3 separate regions of the Homo sapiens genome follow, and regions 2 and 3 are each linked to region 1. The links are contacts of gene promoters, found by promoter capture Hi-C in blood cells and fetal thymus (Javierre and others, 2016). All regions are on one chromosome and are shown on one strand. The core of a region is centred on a gene start or on the middle of the fragment in contact, and the rest is flanking DNA. Distances in the headings are between cores, read along the strand shown. Region 1 holds the start of SECTM1 (secreted and transmembrane 1). Region 2 overlaps FOXK2 (forkhead box K2). Region 3 overlaps TBCD (tubulin folding cofactor D).

Evidence for each region. Contacts are between HindIII fragments. The CHiCAGO score rates a contact against its expected background, and 5 or more counts as called.
Region 2: a contact is called between a fragment that was not itself captured here and the fragment with the promoter of SECTM1 in region 1, in 1 of 17 cell types (endothelial precursors). The highest score is 5.9, in endothelial precursors.
Region 3: a fragment that was not itself captured here is called in contact with the fragment with the promoter of SECTM1 in region 1 in 1 of 17 cell types (endothelial precursors); the score reaches 5.8 in endothelial precursors.

What each region holds. Positions count from the first base shown.
Region 1 is chr17:82,331,205-82,335,740 of GRCh38, forward strand. SECTM1 (secreted and transmembrane 1) reads right to left here and starts at 2,562. Exons shown (of 5, transcript NM_003004.3): 1 at 2,496-2,562. RefSeq lists a silencer at 905-1,189 and enhancers at 1,066-1,868, 3,916-3,985. The HindIII fragment of the contact is 7,811 bases long and covers 307-4,536 here.
Region 2 is chr17:82,593,935-82,598,790 of GRCh38, forward strand. The region is part of intron 8 of FOXK2 (forkhead box K2); the gene reads left to right. Among named protein-coding and RNA genes, the nearest start is that of FOXK2-AS1, 7.9 kb to the left of the region's middle. The HindIII fragment of the contact is 9,092 bases long and covers 1-4,856 here.
Region 3 is chr17:82,766,613-82,771,500 of GRCh38, forward strand. TBCD (tubulin folding cofactor D) reads left to right here. Exons shown (of 39, transcript NM_005993.5): 5 at 1,808-1,954. Among named protein-coding and RNA genes, the nearest start is that of TBCD, 17 kb to the left of the region's middle. The HindIII fragment of the contact is 512 bases long and covers 2,038-2,549 here.

The DNA.
Region 1 (4,536 bases), core at 1,312-3,811:
GCCCTGGGCCTGGAAGACCCCTGTCTTTGGCTTGAGAATGACTTTGAAGGGCTCAGGGGGTAGGGAGCTGGGGGGAGACCGGGAGGAGAGCGGCAGGTCTGGCTCTACCCCGAGGCTTCAGGCTGCGGACCATGCGTGGCCCCAGCTCTGTCTGGGCAGCAGGTGTCAGCGACTTTGGGTTGCTGTGGGAATTTGCTCCGTTTATCAGAAGAAAACGCACCCTGGCAACACAGGCCCCTCTCAGGTCACCAGGCACATCTGGTCACATCTGAGTCTCAGATAAACAACCAATGATGTCCTGGTGAAAGCTTGTCCCGTGGGACACTCGGGACACACTTATATTAAAACACGATTAACGATCTCAAACTCAGATGTTACTGGGTATCCTGCGTTTTTGTTGGCAGCTCTGCCACTCTGCCCGTCTGCCTGAGTCCTCTCCTGCCATCCTCCTGACCAGAGGCGTGGGCTTGAGTTGAATGCCACGCAGTGGCTAAAAATCAGAGAGAGGGCAGGCGGCAGGGCGCGGCCCCAGGGAAAGTGGCCAGGTGGGCGGTGACTGGCCGGGCAGCTCCGTGTGTGGCACAGGGAGACCTGGCACAGGGAGACCAGGTACAGGGAGACGAGGCGCACGGAGCCTCAAAACTTCTAGAGTGGGCCGGGCGCGGTGGCGCATGCCTGCAATCCCAGCACTTTGGGAGGCTGAGGCAGGTGGATCACCTGAGGTCGGGAGTTTGAGACCAGTCTGAACAACGTGGTGAAACCCCGTCTCTACTAAAAATACAAAAAAATTAGCCGGGCGTGGTGGTGCACGCCTGTAATCCCAGTTACTTGGGAGGCTGAGGCAGGAGAATCGCTTGAACCAGGGAGGTGGAGGTTGTGGTGAGCCAAGATCTGGCCACTACATTCCAGCCTGGGCAACAAGAGCGAAACTCCGTCTCAAACCAAACAAAACAAAAAACAAACTTCTAGAGCGGGAAAAGATGGAGGCGGCAATCAGATTTCTCTCAAACCACGAACACAGGGGTCGGTATCTGAGGCGCCGGCACCAGACACGGCAGGGTCTGAGTGCTCCCTGACAAGCGATGATGCGCAGGCTTGGAGCCATGCCAGTGACACGCCTAGGAAAGTTCACGCACCGCCCAGCACGCCTGCGCATGCCTGTTCCCGCTCCCTGGTGCCCCGGGCGCCTGCCTGTCCCGGCTCCCATGGGTGCTGGGTGTGTGGAAGCTCCGGCCCCCTCGGGCTGGGTTCATTGGGGTCCTCCTGTGTGGTCAGTGGACTCTGTACCCCCACAGCACCTGAGGGGTGGCTGACACTGCTTTCCCAGCTGCTGCAGGGGCTCAGGGAACACAGGTGACCCCACGTCTCTACCGAGAATGAGCACACCAACACCTCTCAGAAGACAGCTGCAGCCTGCAGAGGCCATGGACCCCACCCAGGCCCACGGTGTGGACGGCTCTGCCCTGGTCTCTGCTGAGCCAGGCCCAGAGGGGACCCCAGGTGAGCAGCAAAGCCCCCCAGGCCTGGGGCTAGACCGGGCTAACCCTTCCTGCTCAGCACCTGTTCACCTGTCCCCTCTGCTGGTGGCCTCCTGTCCTCCCGCTCTGGGCTCAGCAGCAGCCCCGTGGAGAGGCCCTGCCACCACCCCCGCCCTGCTGGAGACAGGCCTCCTACGCGGGCTCCTGCAGCCGGTCGCCCTGGGCCTCCTAGAAGCCGGGGATCCTCTGCTGACCACCGGCAGAAAACGTGCTTCTCAAGCTGCAGGTGATTCACCAGTAGTGGGCAAGGAACTGAATGTGGTGATTACTGCGGAGTCAGCAAAACCCGCGTGAGAACGGGCAGCTGAGGGCCTGCCGGGTGAGGGAAGCCTCACGGTTCCTGTTTCATGAGTTTGCTGTGAGTGCACACGAGGCTGTGGCTGTGGAGTGTGCAACAGTCCACGCGTGCCTGCGTGTGCTCATGTGCGTGTGTCCACCAGCTTGTGTGCACGCATATGAGCGAGTGCGTTTTGCTCCCAGCTTGGTCGCAGCGACGGCGCAGGGAACCCCGGGTGAGGCCGAGGACCGGGAAGGGAGGAGGGGGCTCCGACCCATCGGACTTAGGGGAGCCCCGGGTCCGAGACGCCGCCTCTGTCCCTTCAAGAGTCGAGCCTGGCGCACAGGGCAGGGACGCGGGTCCCCACACCGGCCGGCAGCTCGTTCCCGCCCATACTCGGGTACGCCCGCTGCGACCCCGCCCGCCTGGCCTGCGACGCACGCTCAGGGCCAGCGGGGGGTGACGGTCCCAGAGGCAGAGGCGCCGCAGCCCCAGAGTCCCCATCCCTGCGCGGACCGGCAACCCCAGTGCACCAAGAGGCCCTAACACCGAGCCCCCAGCACCGAGTCCCCAGCACCGGGCCCTCAGCACCGAGTCCCCAGCACCGAGTCCCCAGCACCGAGTCCCCAGCACCGAGCCCGCCCCTCTGGTTCCCCCGCCCGCCCCTCTCCGCGCCTCACCGGGTCCGCTCCTGGACGCGCTCCTCTGGGATGCAGCTTCTCCGCGCCCCGGAGCCCCAGGAAAATGAAAGACACGAGAGGGAGGGGCCAGGGAGGAGGCGGCGGACCCGCGCGGGACCCACCTCCCAGATGAGGAAGGAGCTGGGTTTACGGGAAGCCTCCAAGTTTCGGGAACCACCCGCGTTCACAACAAGCGTGACGGTGAATTTATTATTTTCACGGGAGGCACCGCACCCGCGGTTCACGCTAAAGGAAGCAGGAAAGCCGCCGGGAGCATTTTTCCAGGAGAGTTCGTGCCTGGGCGGGTCCAGCTCGCGTGCGGCGCGCGTTCCCCGCGGGGCTGTTTGGCTCCGCTCCTGGAGGCCTCGAGTCTGTGCACGGGGCGAGCTGGGCGGGCCGAGTGGGCCGCGGGGAGGGAGGGCGGGGGGCGGCCCCCAGATGCCTGGGAGTGCGCGGGCAGAGTGAGCTGGACCCCCGGAGGGTCAGAGGCCCTTTCATAAAAGCGCGCAGAGCAGAGGAGTGATGTCCCCCAGCTCCCCCGCAGAGGGTCCTGCACCTGCGGCCTGGGCCTTCAGGCGTCCTGCGGCCCCTGCGGAGGTGCTGGCCTGGCCAGCCCGGGAGGAGGGGCCCAGCCTGTTGGGGCAGGAGATTGGGGTGCGGGTAGAAGGCTCCAAGACGCATCCGGGCCGGGAACCCACAGACATCCCAGGTGGGCAGGAGGTGGCTCGAGGAGGCCTGGAGGACCCGGCGCCTGGCGGGGTGGCAGGCGGGCCACGTCCTCCACTAGAACCCGAGGGGGCACGCGGGCAGGTGCGGGCGGGGTCAAGGATGACCAGGTATCTTCGGGACACTAGGAGGAGGCCCCACAGGCTGCAGTCACGTGAGTGGGCAAGTCCCCACCGGGCAGATGATGGGGGACACTGGGGCGTGGGCAATGCCCCCAGTTTCATGGAAGAGAGGAAGAAGCAGAACCAAACTCCGGGAAACCCTCAAATGTGGGGAATGGACGGAGCAGGGCCAGACTGGACGCTGAACCTTGGAGCCTGCAGCTCAGCCATCAGACCCAGGGTCCAGAGGTGGGTGGCACAGAACAAAGTCCCCCGGGATGTTCCAAAAGAGAAACTGTCGCCAAATTGGCAGGTGAAACACAGCCTGTCATCCTCCCAGCAAGACGGCACCATGGCCGGGGCACAGAGGTCAGATTCCCCAGCCCCCGCCCTCGGGGAAACCCCAGCCACCCTGGCTGCCAGTGAGATGCTGGAGAGGGGGCTGAAATCCCACCTGCCCACGTCCTCTGCACAGAGGGGCTTGTCCCCGAGGCCACATCCCCCAGCAGCCACAGCTTCCTTCTCCTTTTTTCCTGCCTACTAGATCTCTCAACTCAGAGGGGGCTGCAGTTCCTGGGGGCAGGGGGGTCCGGCTGCTTAGGCAGGAGCACCTGCACCGTGAGGCTCTGGAGGGCAGCTGAAGGCTGGCAGGCTTTTGTCCCGTGAGGGGACACCACTGGGGGTTGGAGGAAAACGCATATCCTGATAAAGCATTTCATGTTGTGAAAGTGAAACTAGTTTGTTTATTTTGGAAGTAATACAGGCACAGAAACAAAATAGAATGAAACCAACTGTTGCCTTTTCCTCCCCACCCTGGCTTCAATTCCCAGGTTGAGTTATGGACACTGCCTTACCTATCCTTCTAGAAGTTTTCCTGGTCCATACAAACAGCACAGCCATCCACTCACGTTTATTTCTTTCTTTTTTTTGAGACGGAGTCTCTGTTGCCCAGGCTGGAGTGCAGTGCTGCAGTCTCGATCACTGCAACCTCTGCCTCCCAGGTTCAACTGATTCTCCCACCTCAGCCTTCTGAGTAGTTGGGATTGCAGGCATGTATCACCACGCCCAGCTAATTTTTGTAGTTTTAGTAGAAATAGGATTTCATCATGTTGGCCAAGCTGGTCTCGAACTCCTGACCTCAGGTGGTCCGCCTGCCTTGGCCTCCCAAAGTGCTGGGGTTACAGGTGTGAGCCACCACATCTGGGCAGTATCTT
Region 2 (4,856 bases), core at 917-3,416, 260 kb after region 1:
CAGGCCACGCGGACGAGGAGGTGCGAGGCCTCGGGTCGGGGCCTGTGTTCTGCGGGAGCCGCACCCATCATCGCTGTGGCGGTGGCAGTGGAGCAGCTGCTCTCGTGTCTGAGCTGCTCCGGCGTCTCTGTCCACAGTATAGGGTCTTCTGATGCTTCCTGGAGGTCTCGGAGGGGCTTGCTGCGTGTAGTACCCACACAGCCCACAACTGGGGTGTTGTCAAGTGTTATGACGTAGGTTGCCTGTGGAGTAAAAGTTGGCCGCTAAGAAATGCTCTAGACAGGCCGGGCACGGCGGCTCACACCTGTCATCCCAGCACTTTGGGAGGCCGAGGCGGGCGGATCACGAGGTCAGGAGATTGAGACCATCCTGGCTAACACGGTGAAACCCTGTCTCCACCAAAAATACAAAAAATTAGCTGGACATGGTGGCGGGCGCCTGTAGTCCCAGCTATTCGGGAGGCTGAGGCAGGAGAATGGCATGAACCCGGGAGGTGGAGCTTGCAGTGAGCTGAGATCGCGCCACTGCACTCCCGCCTGGGCGACAGAGCGAGACTGTCTCAAAAAAAAAAAAAAAAAAAATGCTCCAGACACTTCAGTTTGAAAATATTGGAATTTATGTGGGGAGGATTAGTGTGCATGGAAGGCCAAAAATGTGAATGCATCTCCGCAGTCATCTTTCCAAAAGCCGCCCTCTGAATCAGTGAGGACCCTCAGGGTGGGGAACGTCCCCTTGTGAGTGTCTGCAGATTGGAGTAGGCAGCAGCGGAGCCCGTCTCTGTAGATGGACTCGCAGAGGAACTTAGTTCTTTCCCTAAAGGAGTAGGAACAGCTGGGCGCCGTGGCTCACGCCTGCAATCCCAGCACTTTGGAAGACCAGGGTGGGCAGACTGCTTGTGCCCAGGAGTTCAAGACCAGCCTGGACAACATGGTGAATCTCTGTGTCTACAAAAAATCACAAAAGTGGCTGTGGCGGCAGCACCTGTAGTCCCAGCCACCAAGAGGCTAAGGCAGGGAGATCGTTTGAGCCAGGGAGGTTGAGGCTGCAGTGAACCGTGATCGCCCCACTGCACTCCATCCTGGGAGACAGGGTGAGACCCTCTCCACATAGTAAGTAAATGGAGGAATAGAAACGCAAGCCGGCATACATTGTCTTTGACAGCATTTTGTGGATAGGCAAGTTCTAACCATGGGGGCAACGTGGGATGCAGCAGGGTTTGGTGTGCCGTGGGGCAGGGGTAATTTGCTTGTTTCTCTAAGACTTTGTACAGCTCTGTAAACAGATTCCCATTAGGTCGTCCTTTCCTTGTGACAGGTAATAGTGGAGGTGTCACAAGGTAAGTGGCCTGTCTTGCCTGGTTTTCAGGTTCTACGGCTTTTGTCTTGTTTTTTGAGAAAGGGTCTGTCACTCAGACTGGAGTGCAGTGGCGTGATCACAGCTCAGTGCAGCCTTGAACTCGTGGGCTCAAGTGATTCTCCTGCCTCAGCCTCCTGAGTAGCCAGGACTACAGGCACGTACAAACATGTCCAGCTAATATTTTTTTTCTTTTGTAGAGATGGGGTCTTACCGTGCTGCTCAGGCTGGTCTCAAACTCCTAGGTTCAAGTGATTCTCTCGCCTCTGCCTCCCCAAATGCTGGGACTACAGGTGTGAGCCACCGCGCCCAGCCTTCTCCTTGTGTTTGAACTGGAGAGGACAGAGTGCTATACATGTGGTCACGGTTTTTCTTCGTTGAAAGCTCTAACAGTGGGGTCGGTCCCTGTTATTAAGCCTGTGTCACTATTCCCTGGGCCCTAAAAGTGCACCTGGCTCCTGTGACTTGGGGTCCTTTCCCACTCCTCTCCCCAGGGCCCCTTGGCCTCAGAAGGCCCCCATGTGCCAGCTCAGACTGGAGTTGCCTCAGTTGACACAGCAGGCCCCATCCAGACAGACCAGCAGGTGCTTCTGGAGACAAGAGCAAAGCCTTTTCCGGCAGCCCGGAACCTGGGATGAGAAACGACAGGTGGAAGGTTGTCCAGAGACACCTACAGCGTGGATGCTGTTCCGAGTCAGCGTAGGAGAAAGGCCACTGGAAACCAGAGTCACACTGCGCGTCTGTGCATCTCTGGCCTACCGCAGTGGCCCCGGCTGTCTGCACATTTTTTGTAGACACATTAGAGTCGGTTGAGGCCACACCTGCGGCCACAGACTGCGACCGCGATTGCAGGGAGGAGCATCTGAGGTGGTCACGGGGTTTGCCCAGCTCACACCAACTGCAGGTCAGTTCCTGCTTCGCCTTCAGTAGCCTGAGTCCCTTCTTCTTTTTCTTTCACGTTACTAGGGCAGTTGTTCGCTGACGCCTTAATTCTGGAACACGTTCCTTGCCCAGATTCTTGGTGGCTGCTTGTTCCCTTCTCATCGTTCCTGCTGTGTTTTCCATGCTTGGTGTAGGGGGACCCTCAGAGCTTGGTGTAGGGGGAGCCTCAGAGCTTGGTGTAGGGGGAGCCTCAGAGCTTGGTGTAGGGGGAGCCTCAGAGGTGGCGTCAGGACGTGCCTGCCCCACCGGTTGCCCTGGTGCCCTCGTCACGCCCCGGGACCGCGCACACGTGGGGACTGTTTCCAGACGCACTTTCTGCGGGCAGTCTGTGTGGCAGGGCTCCCTGCCCAGCTCCTGCAGCCTCATCAAGTCTCCCACTAAGGAGGTGTCGCTCCTCCAACTTTGTTCTTTTTAAAAATCGCTTCAGCCATTCTAGGTCCTTGGCATTTCCGCGTGAACTGTAGGATTCCTACACCAAGCCTGCTGGCGTCTTGATTGGGACGGTGTTGAATCCAGAGTGTGTGGCAGAGCTGGCGGAGCCCCTCTTTCTTTGATCTCTGCCGATCTCCTTGATTTCACGTTTGTTTTATTCCACAGACCACCCCCTCCCCATCTTCTCACCTACTTCAGGTTCCATTTCATGGTAGGAAATTCCTGTAGTCCTCCCGGGCTTGCTGAAGTGCTGCTCCAAGTTACAGTCCCCGGGTTGTCAGGCGTGGCGAGAGCCCCTTGTGCTCAGAGCTCTCACGGAACACAGAGCAAGCCTGTCTACGAGTTCAGCCGGTGAGGGGCAGGGGCTGGTGAAGGCGGCGGCGCCTCTGGGTGTGCCCAGGGGCAGGGTCGCCTCCAGGCCCCACGCGCTAAGCCGTGACTCCCTGTAACACACCCGTGTCGACACAGGTCACGTGGGCCCGAGGTGCTCATACATCACACTCCTTGTCCAGGATGGTCCTTCCTGGCACCATGTGGTCCTCGGTGCAAACCAGAGTTTGCAGTGCTCGCTGCACAGACCCTTCTGCCTTATTCAGCATCTTTAGATCAACAGAGTCAGTGCCTTCCCAAGAGAGCACGTGTGGGCCTCATCAGGAGCATGTGCCCAACTCGTGTGTGTGTTCCTTCTCTGCCCTGGAGGAGAGGGGTCGCCCTCTCTTGTGGCCCACCCCGGGGCTGCAGGGCTGATGGCTGCTCCCTCCCCAGCTCCGGCACCTCCAGGGCTCTGCTGCCTTTAGTCTTCCTTGCGTGCCCTCCACCTCCCTCCGAGCCTCTGCTGAGACCTCTGCTTCAGGGCCGGGCGTGTTAGCACAGCCCCTCTGCTGTTACAGGGCTCCATGTGGGGTCTCCACGTGGCGGAGTACCTCGCGACAGAGGCTCTGTGAGGGCAGGGCTGGGTGGATGAGAGTATTTAAGTGTCACCATTTCTTTTCTTTCTTTTTTTTTTGAGACAGAGTTTTGCTTTTGTTGCCCAGGCTGGAATGCAGTGGCATGACCTTGGCTTACTGCAACCTCTGCCTCCTGGGTTCAAGCAATTCTCCTGCCTCAGCCTCCTGAGTAACTGAGATTACAGGTGCCCGCCACCACACCTGGCTAATTTTGTATTTTTAGTAGAGACGGGGTTGCACCACGTTGGCCAGGCTGGTCTCAAACTCCTGACCTCAGGTGATCCGCCCACCTTGACCTCCCCAAGTGCTGGGATTACAGGCGTGAGCCACCGCGCCCGGCCTCCCAGTTTCTTTTCACTCCAGGCCTCTCACTACTGTTCTCTAATTGACACAGAATAATTGTGCAAGTGTATGGGGTGCACAGTGATGTTGAGAAGCATGTGACTCGTGATCGGCACATCCGTCATCTCATTGACCATTTCTAGGTGTTGGGAACCTTCTGGCTGTTTGAAACCGTATTGTTGACTCCCATCATCTCGCAGTGCTGCAGAACACTAAACTTATTCCTTCTGTCTAGCTGTCGTTTCTAGTTTTACGTCTTTTTAAAAATTATTCCTCCTGTCTGTCATTTCTAGTTTTATGTCCTTTTAAAAATTATTTATTTTTTATAGAGACGGGGTCTTGCTATGTTGTCCAGGCTGGTCTCAGCCTCCTGGCCTCAAGGGACCCGCCTGCCTCAGCCTCTCTTGGGGTTGCAGGCGTGGACCACTGTGCCTGGCCTACGCCTCTTGTATTCTCTGGGTCATCCAGTCAACTTGAGCCCTGGTGAGGGTGAGGCTGTTGGGTTGGGTGAGTCAGCCGTGTTGTGCTGCCGTAACAGAACACCCAAGATGGAAGACTTTAGCATGAACAGAAACGGATTGGCTTGCAGTTCTGGAGGCTGGCAAGGGCCTTCTTCCTGTGTGCTCACGTGGTGATGGGGTGAAGGCATATTCACCCTTTTAGAATGAACTCACTCCTGGAATCATGAGCCTGTCCCTTGGTGACAGCATTAAGCTGTTAGTGAGGGCAAAGCCTTCATGGTCAAGTCACCTTCTGAAGATGCCACCTCCTAATTAGGCTGCGTGGGCAAGTGAGTTTCAGCATTTCAGGAGACAGATGCCCACACCATAGCAGTGACCT
Region 3 (4,888 bases), core at 1,044-3,543, 440 kb after region 1:
ATAAATCCGTCATTGTTTCTATGTTTTTTTAACTGTGTAAGTATAACTGTGTTGGGTTCCCAAGACCACCCCCAGGTTTGATACTTCCTGAGCGGGACTCACAGCACTCAGCATAGAGTCCTCCTTTTGGCTGTCACTTGTTATGGCAAAATAATACACAGCAAAATCAGCAAAGGGAAAAGGCACATGGGTGGGGTCTGGGGAGAACCAGGCGGGAGCTCCCGGGGTCCTCCAGTTGGGTCCCACAGGGCCTGTGTCATTCCCCCAGCAGTGAGATGTGACCACACCTGTGAGGTGTCTATCAGAGAAGCACGTTTGAGACTTGGTGCCCAGAGCTTTCACTGGGGTCTGGCCACATGGACACCTCTGCCTGGCACGAAACGAAATTCCAGACCCCCAGCAGGAAAGCAGGTGCCAGCGTAAAGCACACGGTTTGTGCAGATTGAGCCAGCGAGGGACCTCATCAGGCAGGGCTTGGTGGGAACCCTGCTGGTGTCCAGGTCCCTGGATACCAGCCCAGGGCCGGCCTCGTCAGGGGCCTTGCCTCAGACGGCAGCGGGGCCTGCTATGCTCGCTGTCTTCTGCGTGGTATGTATTTGGAGGAGCACACGGTTTATAACCGTGCAGTGCGGTGGCTTGTCTCGGCGTGGATGTGACTGATGAGCGCTGTGGGGCATTTCCCTGCTGCCCTGCACTCCGTGCCCTTCTTTCCCTAGTACTTCTAGCGCCCCCCAGTGGAATGATTGCAGGGACAAATTGGGATGTTTTTTACTAATTACTGAAAATAAGGGTACTCCTTTTTTATTAGAAGTTGATAATTGTTTTCTTTATTCTTTTTTTTTTAAAAAGACAGAGTTTCACTCTTCTTGCCCAGGTTGGAGAGCAATGGCACAATCTTGGCTCACTGCAACCTCTGTCTCCCAGGTTCAAGCGATTCTCCTGTGTCAGCCTCCTGAGTAGCTGGGATTACAGGCATGTGTCATCACGCCAGGGTAATTTTGTATTTTTAGTAGAAACAGGGTTTCTCCATGTTGGTCAGGCTGGTTTAGGACTCTTGACCTCGGCCAGGCACGGTGGCTCGTGCCTGTAATCCCAGCAGTTTGGGAGGCCAAGGTGGGCGGATCACGAGGTCAGGAGATCGAGACCATCCTGGCTAACACGGTGCAACCCTGTGTCTACAAAAAATACAAAAATTAGCCTAGCATGGTGGCAAACGCCTGTAGTCCCAGCTACTCAGAAGGCTGAGGCAGGAGAATGGCGTGAACCCGGAAGGTGGAGCTTGCAGTGAGCGAGGTTGCGCCACTGCACTCCAGCCTGGGCAACAGAGCGAGACTCCATCTCAAAAAAAAAAAAAGGAACTCCTGACCTCAGGTGATCCGCTCGTCTCGGCCTCCCAAAGTGTTGGGATTACAGGTGTGAACCACCACACCTGGCCTTTTTTCTTTATTCTTAGGTGTTTTTACTTTTTATCTGTTTTTCACTTTTTCAAAAGGCCAGTTTGTATGTGGAGAGGTGCCAGCGAAGAGAAGCTGCTATACTGATGTATTATGATTTTTCTTTGTTCATTTTGATGTCTCTCTTGTCTGCTGAGCTAAGTTACGGCGGTAGGTGTGTGTGGTGGGGATTCCGGGGGGGATGTGGCGAGGAGTTGGTGAACGGCTTGCATTTCTGGCCCTGAGGGTGATGGCATTTGAATGGCTTTCATAGGCATTGGGTGGGCATGGAGGGCAGTGACTTTGAGTAGATTGTGGCCAGTGGCCTGTGATTTTCAAGCAAGACTCATTCTTCCCGTGGTTTAATTTTTTAGGCTTGGGAAACCCGCTACATGCTTTTGCTCTGGCTCTCCGTGACCTGCCTGATCCCTTTTGATTTTTCTCGCCTTGACGGGAACCTCCTCACCCAGCCTGGGCAAGCACGAATGTCCATAATGGACCGTATTCTCCAAATAGCAGAGGTAAATATCATGCAGATAATTAGCTGCTAATTAGTACTCACTTTCATGTTCATGCTGTCTTGATGTTAGTGGTTTACTCGGTAAGCTTCTGATATGTATTCAACTGCTGTTTTTTTCAGTGGGGTAAAATCCCATAGGATAACTTATTTTGAAATTGTGATAATTCATGTAGGGGTCAGGTTGAGTTAGCAAATCTCATTTCTTTGTAGATGATGCAAATACTCTGTTGAGGGTAATCATGGCAGATAAGGAAGGGTTTAGTGGCATGGTGAGAGAGAATAAGGACCCATTTTACATTTAGTTCTTAACGTTATATAAATAATAGATGCTCATTTGTAGGAGAACTAGAAAATAAAGATAAGCAAGAAAAATACTAAATTTAAATTTATGAAATTCTAGTGCCAAGAGATAAGTTGTTTATTTTCTCCGAACTTTTCCTGATGTAAATATTATGCATATAAACACAGCTTATTGTATTAGTTATCTATTGGATCATAACTAATTACCCCAAACTTGAGTGTTTGACACACATTTATCCTCTTGTAGTTTCTGTGGGTCGGGAGTCTGGCATGGCTGAGCTGGGTCCTTTGTGTCAAGCTTGCCCACAGCTGCAGTTAAAACTCGACATGGGCAGGCTTTGCCCCAAGGCCGTTGGATTGAGGCCACCCTCAGTTCTTTGCCACCTGGGCCCCTCCAACTTAGTGACTTATTCCATCAAAGCCTGCAAGGGAGAAACTCTGCTAATGAGATGGAAGTCATGATAATATGTTACCTGATCATGGAAGTGACGTCCCATTCCTCTGCCAGATCCTGTGGTTAGCAGCAAGTCACCGAGTCCAGCCTACGCAAGCGAGCACTAGGAGGCTGTCAGGCTCTGAGCCATCTCAGTTGTCTCGGTCTTCCTGCCACGCTGACTGCGACAGCCCTGGTCAGCATTCACTGAGTGCCTGCTGTGTGCCTGGCACCGTTCAAACACTCATAGATTAATCTTTAATCACTTATGGATTAATAATTTAACCTATACATTGGGCTGGGCATGGTGGGTCACTCCTGTAATCCCAGCACTTTGGGAGGCCGGGGCGGGCAGATCACGTGAGGTTAGGACTTCGAGACCAGCCTGGCCAACATGGTGAAACCCTGTGTCTACTAAAAATACAAAAATTAGCTGGGCCTGGTGACACATACCTGTAATCCCAGCTACTCAAGAGGCTGAGGCAGAAGAATCCCTTGAACCTGGGAGGTGGAGATTGTAGTGAACTGAGATTACGCCACTGCACTCCAGCCTGGGTGACAGAGCGAGAGTCCATCTCAAAAAAAAAAAAAAAAAAATTTAACCTATACGTTGATGATTGATAGATCATCAGTGATTAATTAACTGTGATTAATAATCATTGAATTCTCCTTCATGAGGCTGTTGACAATTCTTACCCTCGTTTAACCGAGAAGGCAACAGGCATAAAAATTAATAACTTAGTTTACTTTGCTCATAAATGGTGGATCCATGTTTGAATCCAGGCGGTTTATCTGGAGTCTGTGCTCTTCATCAGGGCTCAGCATTGCCCCATGACCTGCTGTTCTGAGTCCTTTTTACCCTCAGCAACACGTTCTTAGTGTCTTACGATGTCAGAAAGTGTCCCCCTCATAATCGTTAAGGGAAAAGGTACTCCATTGTAATCTAATTTAAAATTCTCTCTGATAGATGGATGTTTTGTTTGTTCTTGTTTTGTTACGTTAGAGGTAGTGTGGTGATGGGCTGGGTGCGGTGGCTCACGCCTGTAATCCCAGCACTCTGGGAGGCCAAGGTGGGCATATCACCTGAGGTCAGGAATTCGAGACCAGCCTGACCAACATGGAGAAACCTTGTCTCTACTAAAAATACAACATTAGCTGGGCGTGGTGGCACGTGCCTGTAGTCCCAGCTACTCAGGAGGCTGAGGCAGAAGAATCGCTTGAACCTGGGAGGCGGAGGTTGTGGTGAGCCGATATCACGCCATTGCACTCCACCCTGGGCAACAAGAGTGAAACTCCGTCTCAAAAAAAAAAAAAAAAAGTAGTATGGTTTACCCACCCTTGTTTACTTGTCTGTGGAGAGGGACTGCCAGGTCAAGGGAGCATGGTTTGTCAAGACTTGGCACTCTGTGATTGCCGTTAGAAAGCCTGCCCCGGAGGCCGGGCACGGTGGCTCACACCTGTAATCCCAGCACTTTGGGAGGCCGAGGCAGGTGGATCACGAGGTCAGGAGTTTAAGACCAGCCTGGACAAGATGGTGAAACCCCATCTCTACTAAAAATACAAAAATTAGCCGGGAATGGTGGCTAGTGCCTGTGATCCTTTCATATTTATTCAACTGTTCTCTTACAAATGAACAGCTACTTGGGAGGCTGAGGCAGAGAATTGCTTGAACCCGGGAAGCAGAGGTTGCAGTGAGCCAAGATTGCACCACTGCACTCTAGCCTGGGCAGCAGAGCAAGACTCCGTCTCAAAAAAAAAAAAAAAAAAAAAAGCCTGCCCCAGAAAAAAAGATCTTCTAAGTGTATCGTTATGGGAAAAAACAAACAAACAAACAAAAAAAACCGAGACAAGCATTGGAAACATTTTAAGGCAGCCCTCCGAAAAATAAATCTAGCTGGGCGTGGAGGTTTCATGCCTGTAATTCCAGCACTTTGGGAGGCCAGGGTGGGAGGATAGCTTGAGCCCAGGAGTTTGAGAGCAGCCTAGACAATATAATGTGACTCAGTCTCTACCAAAAAATAAAAGAAAATTAGCCAGGTGTGGTGGTACACACCTTTGGTCCCAGCTATTCTGGAGGCTGAGGTGGGAGGGTCATCTGAGCTGGGGAGGTTGGTGCTGCAGTGAGTTTTTTTTTTTTTGAGATGGAGTCTTGCCCTGTCACCCATTCTGGAGTATAGTGGTCTAATCTCAACTCACTGCAGC